2 separate regions of the Homo sapiens genome follow, and region 2 is linked to region 1. Evidence: promoter capture Hi-C in 16 types of primary human blood cells and fetal thymus (Javierre and others, 2016). All regions are on one chromosome and are shown on one strand. Each heading gives the region's core, a stretch centred on a gene start or on the middle of the fragment in contact. The rest is flanking DNA. Distances are from core to core; before and after follow the strand shown.

The links. Contacts are between HindIII fragments. The CHiCAGO score rates a contact against its expected background, and 5 or more counts as called.
Region 2: a contact is called between a fragment that was not itself captured here and the fragment with the promoter of RPUSD3 in region 1, in 4 of 17 cell types (activated CD4 T cells, monocytes, neutrophils and 1 more). The highest score is 6.4, in activated CD4 T cells.

Annotation. Positions count from the first base shown.
Region 1 is chr3:9,841,541-9,847,456 of GRCh38, reverse strand. It overlaps RPUSD3 (RNA pseudouridine synthase D3), which reads left to right and starts at 3,449. Exons shown (of 9, transcript NM_173659.5): 1 at 3,449-3,567; 2 at 3,856-3,992; 3 at 5,214-5,258; 4 at 5,375-5,474. The coding sequence starts at 3,467. RefSeq lists an enhancer at 3,507-3,586. The HindIII fragment of the contact is 7,859 bases long and covers 1-5,339 here.
Region 2 is chr3:9,973,689-9,979,117 of GRCh38, reverse strand. EMC3 (ER membrane protein complex subunit 3) reads left to right here. Exons shown (of 8, transcript NM_001394674.1): 2 at 1,672-1,729; 3 at 2,068-2,161; 4 at 4,630-4,734; 5 at 5,409-5,429. Among named protein-coding and RNA genes, the nearest start is that of EMC3, 10 kb to the left of the region's middle. RefSeq lists an enhancer at 1,490-2,689. The HindIII fragment of the contact is 7,414 bases long and covers 65-5,429 here.

The DNA.
Region 1 (5,916 bases), core at 2,200-4,699:
CTCTCTAACAACAGCAATATAATGTTCACAGTTCTGGAGGCTGGCAGTCCAAGATCAGCTGGCATACAGGGTGTCTGGTGAGGGCCCACTTTCTGGGTCATGCCTGCCATCTTCCCACTGTGGTCACATGGCGGAAGGGGCGAGGGAGCTCTCTGGGGCCTCTTGTATAAGGGCGCTAATCCCAACCACAAGGGCCCCACCCTCATGACCCCATCACCTCCCAAAGATGCCACCTCCAGATGCCATCACCTTGGGGATGAGGTGTCAACACATGAGTTTGGGGGGACACAGACATTTGTTCATGTGGTAAGTGGCTCCAATGCTGGCCTGCCTCTGAGGCCTGGCCTCCTGGTGGAGGGCCGTGCAGGCACAGGGCTCTCGTGCACTGGGGTCCCCGGGGACACCTCCCACCCCTGCCCAGGCTCTACTTGGGAGTTGGCAGGTGCTGAGTCCTCTTGTGACCTTCTTAAGAAAGTCCCTCCTGGCCAGGTTCAGTGGCTCATGACAGTAATCCCAGCACTTTAGGAGGCCGAGTCGGGTGGATAACTTGAGGCCAGGAGTTCAAGACCAGCTTGGTCAACATGGTGAACCCCTTTCTCTACTGAAAATACAAAACTTAGCAGGGTGTGGTGGCAGGCGCCTGTAATCTCTGTTACTTGGGAGGCTGCAGCTAGAGAATCGCTTCAACCCAGAAGGCAGAGGTTGTAGCGAGCCGAGATCACGCCATTGTACTCCAGCCTGGGCAACAGAGCAAGACTCTGTCTCAAAAAAAAAAAAAGAAAGTCCCTTCTCTCAGAGCTCAGGGCTGATAACAGAGCAAGAAATGCATCCTCGGGGAGAGAGAGCAGCCTGGCCTGGCCTGGCCTGGGAAGGCTGGCTTCAACCATCAAAGACAGCTCTCACACCTCAGGCCCCAGGGCCTGGGGCTTGATCCCTGCATCCCCTCTTCCGCTGGCTGAGCTCTGTGCCTCAAGAGTGAGACTCCACCCTCCCAGCACTCCCTCACAAGCAGACCGGGCCCCATCCTGCCTCTGCTGACCCCCACTCCCCTGGGGCCTGCTCTCTGGGTCAGGACCCGCATGGAAACCAGGGGCAGGCCATCCCAACACCTCCCAGAGGCTGCCGGCAGCTCAGGCTGGTTTTCCTGTGACCAGTGCAAGTGTTCTTTTCAGTTATCTGACTTCCTTCCGGGGCATTCTGAGCCCACCCATAGCTTTTGGCATGCCTTTAAGGGACACAAAGAACCACAACAGCCACTGTGTCCTCATCTGTAAGGCAGGGCCCCAACCCACCCTGCCTTCCTCATAGGGGTGTGTAATGCTGGATGAAAAAGCCTATTAGAAAGTGTCCGTCAAAGGCCGGGCACGGTGGCTCACACCTGTAATCCCAACACTTTGGGAGGCTGAGGCAGGTGGATCACCTGAGGTCGGGAGTTTGAGACCAGCCTGGTCAACATGGTGAAACCCCATCTCTACTAAAAAATACAAAAAATTAGGCAGGTATGATGGTGCATGCCTGTAGTATCAGCTACTTGGGAGGCTGGGGCAGGAGAATTGCTTGAACCCAGGAGGCAGAGGTTGCAGTGAGCCAAGATCGTGCCACTGAACTCCAGCCCGGGTGACAGAGTGAGACTCCATCTCGAAGGAAAAAAAAAAAGAAGTGTCTGTCAAAGGCCCCGTGCGGCCTTTAATCCCAGCACTCTGGGAGGCCGAAGTAGGTGGGTGAATCCCTTAAACCCAGGAGTTTGATTTTTTAAAAATTATTTTGTTATTTTTATTTTCTTATCTTGAGCCCAGGAGTTTGAGACCAGCCTGGGCAACATCGTGAGACCCCATATCTTTAAAAAAAAAAAAAAAAAAAAAAAAAGCTAGGTATGGTGGTGCACACCTGTAGTCCCAGCTATTCAGGAGACTGAAGTGGGAGGATCGTTTGAGCCTGGGAGGTTGAGGCTGCAGTGAGCTGTGATTGTGCCACTGCACTCCAGCCTGGATGACAGAGCAAGCAAAAAAACACATTAGTGGCCGGGCACAGTGGCTCACGTCTGTAATCCTAGCACTTTGGGAGGCCAAGGCGGGCGGATTGCCTGAGCTCAGGAGTTCGAGACCAGCCTGGGCGACATGGTGAAACCCCGTCACTAAAATACAAAAAATTAGCCGGGTGTGGTGGCGGGCACCGCACCTGTAATTCCAGCTACTCAGGAGGCAAAGGCAGGGGAATCGCTTGAACCCGGGAGGTGGAAGTTGCAGTGAGTCGAGATCGGGCCACTGCACTCTAGCCTGGGTGACAGAGCGAGACTCTGTCTCCAAAAAACAAAAACCAAAACACATTAGGAAAATGTTCACACCAAACTCAAAGTGGAGACTGGGGAGGGAGTGAAAACTGGAAGCACGCAGTAAAGGGGAATTTACTTTTATCCCTTTCATTTCTTAAACAAGAAAAACAGGAAACCTATACATATATATATTGTTTCACAATGACTAATTCTGATGGTAGGAATGTGGGCAGTCATTATATTATTCTTTTTTTTCTGTGTTCTTCTACTTTCTTTTTCTTTTTTCTTTTTTTTTTTTTTTTGAGACGGAGTCTCGCTCGTCGCCCAGGCTGGAGTGCAGTGGCACGATCTCGGCTCACTGCAAACTCCGCCTCCCGGGTTCACGCCATTCTCCTGCCTCAGCCTCCCGAGTAGCTGGGACTACAGGCGCCCGCCACCACGCCCGGCTAATTTTTTTGTATTTTTGGTGGAGACGTGGTTTCACCGTGTTAGCCAGGATGGTCTCGATCTCCTGACTTCGAGGGGCCACAGGACTAGTAGAGCCAAGAGTTGAGGGTCCGGGTGGGGTGATCCGGCCGTCAGAAATGCAAAAGCCTGGAAAGACATCTCCAAAGGCCAATCTCAGGTTGGACAATCGTGAGCTGGGGAAGCTGCAAACACTGTGACCTCCGGAATAACCGCTGGTAATCAGTTACCTCTAACCCTTAGCAGAATTCAGGTCCCTCTACTACTCCTAACCTGGTGGCCTTTCATTAACTCTATGAAGCCAGTTTAGTTCGGGGGAAGGGCAATTATCATTTAGACTACGAACTAATTTCTCCCAAAGTTAGCTTGGCCCAAGCCCAGGAATGACCAAGGACCGTTTAGAGGTTAAAGGCAAGCTGCGGGTTGGTTAGATCAGATCTCTTTCGCTGTCATAATTTTGTAATATAATTTTTGCAAAGGCGGCTTCAGGTTTTTTGCTAAGACAGGTTTTTTGATCAGATCAAATTCTTCTGCTACAGCGCTCTCCCTAAAAGCATAGGAAGGCATTTCTGCATTTCCTTCCTGGGCGGAGGAAAAGCCCCGCCTCCTCAGGCTCTGAGTCCCGCCCGGTCACCATTCCGATTGACACTCCAGCTGACCAATCAGCGCGCTGGCTGGAGCGCGGGTCTGCCCCTCTGGACGCACATGCGCGCTGTCCTGGCTCGGGAGATGGACGGCCGCCGTGTTTTGGGCCGGTTCTGGAGTGGCTGGCGGCGGGGCCTGGGTGTCCGCCCAGTGCCCGAGGACGCAGGCTTTGGCACCGAAGCCCGGTGATTAAGTACCCCCTCTCTCATGCGGGACGGAGGCTAGGGCAGGGGGAAGGCACGTGCGGGATCTGGATCAGGTAGATGTTACCCGAAAACAGCCCCGTTGGCCTCTCTGAGCCTCGGTGCCCTCCGCTGTAGAATGGGACCGGTCGTACCTGAATTTTCGAGGTCAGCCCAGACATTGTGAGGCATTTGTCAGAGGCCGCAGGATTTGGGAAGAGGCGTCCGGAGATAGGAATGGGTGGCACCTCGGGATGGAATGACTCCCATTGCTTCTCCCTCCTTGTCCAGGCATCAGAGGCAACCCCGCGGCTCCTGCCAACGGTCGGGGCCCCTCGGGGACCAGCCCTTCGCGGGGCTGCTGCCAAAAAACCTCAGTCGGGAGGAGCTGGTTGATGCGCTGCGGGCAGCCGTGGTGGACCGGAAAGGTGAGGGGTGAGAGGCACGGCCGCACAAGGACCGGGAGGGGACTGCCTCGGCGTGCAGTTGGGCTCTCCATTGAAGCCACGGGATCAGCCCTGCTTCTGCCTCCCACTAGCAGCATGAGCTGGGACAAGCCACCTAATTTGCACCCTCTCCCCGCTTTTAACCCTACTGCCATGATGCAGTAGGGTTAAGAGTGGGGAGAAGATGCAAATAACTACCGAGCCTTGCACATAGCCGGCGCTCAGTTACGGGAGTTGCTATACTAGATTATTGTTTATTGGCCGCGGTGGCTCACGCCTGTAATCCCGGCACTTTAGGGTGCTGACGCGGGCGGATCACCTGAGGTCAGGAGTTCGAGACTAGCCTGGCCAACATGGTGAAACCCCGTCTCTACTAAAAACACAAAAATTAGCCAGGTGTGGCGGCGTCCGCCTGTAATCCCAGCTACTCGGGAGGCTGAGGCAGGAGAGTCACTTGAACCCGGATAGCAGAGGTTGCAGTGAGCCGACATCGTGCTACTGCGCTCCAGCCTGGGATGACAGAGCAAGACTCAGTCTAAATAAATAAATAAATAAATAATGATTATTTATCGACGGACAAAACACAGGCTTTGGAGTCAGACATACCTAGGCTCTGTGATCAGCTTGCTGTGCGGCTTTAGGAAAATAACTGAATTTCTCTGAACCCCACTCTCTATTCAGTGATTTATTCCTTTTCTCAACTATTTCTTGAACATATGCTATGTTCCAGGCACTGTTCTAGGCAGGCTATACAGTGCTGAAAAAGATAGATATGGTTTCTGCTCTCAGGGGAGAAATGGATTTCTCTCTAACGGGAGAAATGGATGTCAGAAAATAAATGAACAAGTTACTAGTGGTAAGTGCTATGCATAAACTAAAACAGGGTGTTATGATGGTGAGGAACTGCAGGAGGAAGGCAGACATTAGATTGGAGATTCAGACCTCTCCGTGATGTGACATTTGAGCCAAGATGATAGGGAGCCAGACCTGGGAAATTTGGGGACAGGAAACAGCAAGTGCCGAGGCTCTGAGGTGGCAGAGGAACAGAAAGAAGTTGAATTTGGTGTGGGGTAGTTAACTCATGTCTGAGAGTCATGATGGGGACATGTGCTAAGATGCGTGAGAAAGTGCTCTGGAAACTCTTTAGTGCTGCATAAAGGGTTACCGTTGCTTTTGCTGATGTTCGTGTGATGTATGTTTCAGGACCTCTAGTGACGTTGAACAAGCCACAGGGTCTACCAGTGACAGGTATGGGCCGGGGATGTGGGAAGGGAATGCAGCGGAAGGGGGTTTCGTGACTGAGGGAGGGAAAAGTGAAGGCATGAAGCTTTGGCCTCTTGTAATTTTTCTTTCTTACTTTCCAGGAAAACCAGGAGAGCTGACGTTGTTCTCAGTGCTGCCAGAGCTGAGCCAGTCCCTAGGGCTCAGGGAGCAGGAGCTTCAGGTTGTCCGAGCATCTGGGAAGTAAGTGGTAGGGGTGACAGGAAGCTAGGAGTACAGGCATCCATCTGTGGTGGGGAAACAGCTGCTTGGGGATAAGCTGAGACATTTTCCATGGGAAGGTTTGAGATCATAGAGGTGGATACAAGTACTGTGAAGAAGAGGAAGCCGATGGCTCTGGGTTCAAATCCTCAAGTACAAATGGTGTGATACCAGGCAAAGCATGACACCTCCCTGACGCTGGGCACAGTGACTCACACCTGTAATCCCAACACTTCTGGAGGCCAAGGCAAGAGGATCACTTGAGCCCAGGAGTTCGAGACCAGCCTGGGCAAAATAGACCCCATCTCTGGAAAAACAACAACAAAACTTTCCGCGTGGTGGCTCATGCCTATAATCAATAGGACTTTGGGAGGCCGAGGTGGGAGGATTGCTTGAGTCCAGAAGTTCAAGACCAGCCTGGGCA
Region 2 (5,429 bases), core at 2,522-5,021, 130 kb before region 1:
ATAATGAGCTCAGGAGGAGGAAGCAGAGAGAATTCCACGAGGGCTCCAGGCATTGGGAAAAGCTTCGTGGAGATGCTGAGACTTGAAGATGTTAAGGCATGATGGAGTAGAACTCGGAAAGGAAAGGGCACTGGAACATTCCCAGCATGTGGAGAAACTAGAATATGTGTAGTGTGACAGGGGAAACCCCGGGGTACTGACTGTTTAAAACAAGTGGTTTGTATTGAGTAGAGACAGGAAGCCAAGCACAGTTTTTTTGTTTGTTTGTTTGTTTTTTGTTGTTGTTGTTTTTTTGAGATGGAGTCCCACCCCAGGCTGGAGTGCAATGGCGTCGTCTCGGCTCACTGCAACCCCCTACCTTCCTGGTTCAAGTGATTCTCCTACCTCAGCCTCCTGAGTAGCTGGGATTACAGGCACAGGCCACCACACCCGGCTAATTTTTATATTTTTAGTAGAGACAGGGTTTCATCATGTTGGCAAGGCTGGTCTCAAACTCCTGACCTCGTGATCCGCCCACCTCGGCCTCCCAAAGTGCTGGGATTACAGATGTGAGCCACTGCGCCTGGCCCCTACCAAGCACAGGTTTTACTATGTTCATTTCTGTTCATAATTTTTTTTCACGTTTCAAGACTATTTCCATTACTTTAAGGGCCTTTTCCTCTTTTCCTCCTTTAATGAACTTTTGAGTACCTAGAAAAAAATTAATATTTTGATCTCTGTTTTGTCATTTGCATCTTAGCAACACCCATTTGTTGCATAACACTGTATTCTTTTTTTGTTGTTAGAGACAGGGTCTTAACTGTTGCCCAGGCTGGAGAGCAGTGGCGCCATCTCAGCTCATTGCAACCTCTGCCTCTTGGGCTCAGGTGATCCTTCTACTGCAGCCTCCTGAGTAGCTGGGACTACAGGCACGTGCCACCAGCCTGGCTAATTTTTTTTTTTTTTTTTTTTTTTTTTTTTTTTTTTTTTTTTAGAGACAGGGTCTTGCTATGTTGCCCAGGCTAGTCTCAGACTCCTGGGCTTAAGTGATCCACCTGCCTTTGCCTTCCAAATTGCTGGGATTAGAGGCGTGAGCCACTGCACCTGGCCTAGCATGATATTTATTGATCAACTATGGCTCTAATAGTTGATTTAAGATCACCTAGTAATTTCATTTATTTATTCAATAAATGTTTACTGAGAGCTTTCTAACAGTCTGACTTCTGGGTAGATTTTCTATTTGTCCATCAGATAGCAACCCTCTCAAGGCCTGTTCTCATTTCTCTGTAGGTAATAAGAAATTCCTTCTTTTATCCTCACTCTTCTCCCTTTCTCCTGACCCCAGATCTCCTGAGCAGTGTTCAACTATTCTTTTCACTCAGAGAAAGTGTCTTCCTAGCTTATTATCAAATAAGAAAAAGCTGAGTGTAATGTCCCAAATGTACCTAACTCTGAAATATTTATGTGTTCAGAAACACAGTCACTTTTGAAAAATACTTTTCTGAAAACCTAGTAGTTAGGTTAAATAAGTTTACGTTGGTTTTAAAGATACTTGTATTTTGGGAAGTTTCCACACAGAGCTGTTGCCAAATAGGCCCTCTCTTGTGTTTAAATAGGTCTTCTACTTGACTCTCCCATTTTCTTCTAGTGTTTCACTTTTTAAAATCTCATTGTGTTGGTTGTATTTTTCAGTCAAGTCCTAATTCGAAGCAGAGTCCTCAGGGAAAATGGAAAATACATTCCCAAACAGGTACTCATTTATCTTTTATTAAAAAGCTCCACGATTCACTGTTGGGCAGTAGATATCTGAATGTTTTATAAGGGGGCTCTGGGGAAAGCTAAAGGTTGGCAACTTAGTAATTAAGCTGTGGCCTGGTGGTGTTTGCTCTCATGGTGACCTCACCCTTCTTAGGAAATTGTTTTTAAATGTGACTCAGCTAAAGTGTCAGGTCGCCTGCCAAGTAGGCTGACAGCTCTGAGCGGAACAGCATATCCTAAAGGCCTTCTGACTAAGCCACTGGGGAGTAATTTAACAGTTTGCTGTGTCATAGTTCTTAGACTTAAAACACTTTTTTTTTTTTTTACTAGTCTTTCTTGACACGAAAATATTATTTCAACAACCCAGAGGATGGATTTTTCAAAAAAACTAAACGGAAGGTAGTGCCACCTTCTCCTATGACTGGTATGTTTGTTCCCTTCACTCATCTTTAAGGAAGATTTTTAACATGGGTATTTGAGTGGGGTGGGGTAGGCAGGGAGGGTGTCATTTTATTTAAATGTTAAATTGCAAAAGATAGTAATCTTAGACCTTAGAAATCATCTGATACAGGGATCTATGGAAGTGGAATTCTCTTTTTCAGTTAGATTTTCTGAGAACCCCAATGTATAAAGTGGATTAAAAAAAATAGTTCTCAGCTGATGGAGTGGGGAGGCCAGAGCTATTGTCCCTGGGTCTCTCCTTATTGCTGTTCTCAGGACCCAGGATTCTAGGGAGCACAGTTGGTAAAGCATTCCAGCCTGGCTGTCACCCAGTGCCTGGATCCCCTTCCAATAGATGGCTGCCCAGCTTCTGCCTAAATGAGGAAGAGTGCAGTACTTCCAAGATGTGCCATTTTGTTGACTTTGTTGTTAGACGTGATTGTTTGGTCTACCCTACAGTTTTGGCTCTAACATTTTCTACTTCCACTGATACCAGTCATGTGAAAAATATAGCATGTTAAAAGTAAAACAGGCCAGGTGTGGTGGCTCACGCCTATAATCCTTGCATTTTGGGAGGCTGAGTCAGGTGGATTGATTGCCTGAGGTCAGGAGTTCAAACCAGCCTGGTTTACATGATGAAACCCCGTCTCTACTAAAAATACAAAAATTAGCCTAGCGTGGTGGTGGGTGCCTGTAGTCCCAGCTACCCCGGAGGCTGAGGCAGGAAATTGCTTGAACCTGGGAGGTGGAGGTTGCAGTGAGCTGAGGTCACGTCACTGCACTCCAGCCTGGGCGACAGAGCAAGACTCCATCTCCGAAAAATAAAAATAAAAATAACTAAAAGTAAAACAAAGTAATTTGTTGTTCTGTGTTGACTCCTCTCATTTTAGTACTATTCACTTCTTTAGGTGAGATAACCAGCTATTTTAAACCCATACGGAAGGTATTATAATTAATTTTTTTTGAGAGTGACTAAGGTTGTATGGAGTTAATTTTTTAACAAATTTTTAAGAAAATTTACAAGAAACAAAAGACCATTAAATATATGAAAAGTTACTTGACCTCACTAATAATCCATGGAATATCAATTAAAACAAGATATCTTTTTTTTTTTTTTTTTTTTTCTTCAGAAAGGAGTCTCGCTCTCTCACCCAGGCTGGAGTGCAGTGGTGCGATCTCGGCTCACTGCAGGCTCCGCCTCCCGGGTTCACGCGATTCTCCTGCCTCAGCCTCCAGAGTAGCTGAGATTACAGGCACCTGCCACCATGCCCGGCTAATTTTTTGTATTTTTAATAGAGACGGGGTTTCATTGTGTTAGCCAGGATGGTCTCCATCTCCTGACCTCGTGATCCGCCCGCCTTGGCCTCCCAAAGTGCTGGGATTACAGGTGTGAGCCACCGTGCCTGGCCAAGATATCTCTTTTTTTTTTTTTTAGCCCAGTAAGCTGTCAAAAGATTGAAAAGATTGTCAGGATCCACTATTGTCAAGGTCGAGGAAGTTAGGCTCCCTCACCATTGGCGGGAGTGGCAAGAGGTGGGGCCTTGCTGACAGTCTGACAATATCTATCAATTTTAAATGTACAAATCCTTGGACCTAGAAATTCTAAGAAATTCTCTTACGGAAACACATAAACATGCAGATGTATGTGCAAGATAATTGTCGGCAGCATCATTTATCGTTTATTGGCAAAAACAATGGAAACAATCGATAGGTCTACTCAAAAGTGATTGGTGTGACCACACCATGGAATCCTATGCAGACATTAAAAATATTGAGACTGGGTACGGTGGCTGACGCCTGTAATCCCAGCACTTTGGGAGACCGAGGCAGGCAGATCACTTGAGGTCAGTCACGAGTTCAAGACCAGCCTGGCCGACATGGTGAAACCCCGTCTCTACTGAAAATACAAAAATTAGCTGGGCATTGTAGTGTGTGCCTGTAATCCCAGCTACTTAGGAGGCTGAGGCAAGAGAATCACTTGAACCTGGGAGGCGGAGGTTGCAGTGAGCTGAGATCATGCCACTGCACTCCAGCCTGGGCGATAGAGTGAGACTCCATCTCAAAAAAAAAAAAAAAAAAAAACGCTGGGTGCGGTGGCTCCCGCCTGTAATCCCAGCACTTTGGGAGGCCGAAGCAGGCGGATCACGAGTTCAGGAGATCAAGACCATCCTGGCTGACACGGTGAAACCCCGTCTCTACTAAAAATACAAAAAATTAGCCAGGCGTGGTGGCAGGCACCTGTAGTCCCATCTACTCGGGAGGCTGAGGCAGGAGAATGGTGTGAACCTGGGAGGCGGAGCTTGCAGTGAGCTGAGATCGCACCACTGCACTCCAGCCTGGGCGACAGAGCGGGACTCCGTCTCAAAAAAAAACAGTTTACAGAAAATCAGGAGAAAGTCCCTGGCAACAGAGGTAAAACTTAGTGGTTTCTTGTTTGTGCTTTTGTCTTAGATCCTACTATGTTGACAGACATGATGAAAGGGAATGTAACAAATGTCCTCCCTATGATTCTTATTGGTGGATGGATCAACATGACATTCTCAGGCTTTGTCACAAGTAAGTTACAGACCCAGCCGACTTCATGTTACCCAGAGAAATTCAAGTGCTAGTGAGACACTAATATCACAGGTCCTGTGTTTTCTTTTGTAAACTGATAATAGTCCTTGAACAAAAAATTTAATATGTGATGACTTTTACGGCTTTTGCCCAAAAATGATCCTAAGTTCATGACGTGGATGCTTTTTAGCCAGATTAGATTCAAGCAAGTGACTTGCTAGCTTACTTCCAAAACTAATACGGTATTCTCGTTGAGCAGGATAAAGGGAAGCGTATTTCTATTTTGACTTCATTTGCTAGATGTTAGGGTGAGTTTTCTGTTTGTTTGTAAGTTGATTCGCTTTTAATCAATTTGGTTTCTTATTAACATAATTCTATGCTTATATATTCCACTTAGAGTTTGACAGTTTGCTGCAAGTTTTTTCCAAATTTCAGGTCACAGCTCAGTTTGAGTCCCTGCTTCCTCAGTAAGCTAGAGGCAGATATTATTCAGGGAAACTAGAGCAGAGTGGCATTTTGACTGTCTTTTCTTCAGAAATTGCCACAGATTTCCTTGTGGAAGTCGTTTTCCAAAAGCTATGTGGCACAGAGTTCCCACCTCCTCTGAGAAAGAGTCACACTTATTCTAAAAATAAAACAGCTCAGAGTGATTGTGAACTTTTTCTTCTCTGCAGCCAAGGTCCCATTTCCACTGA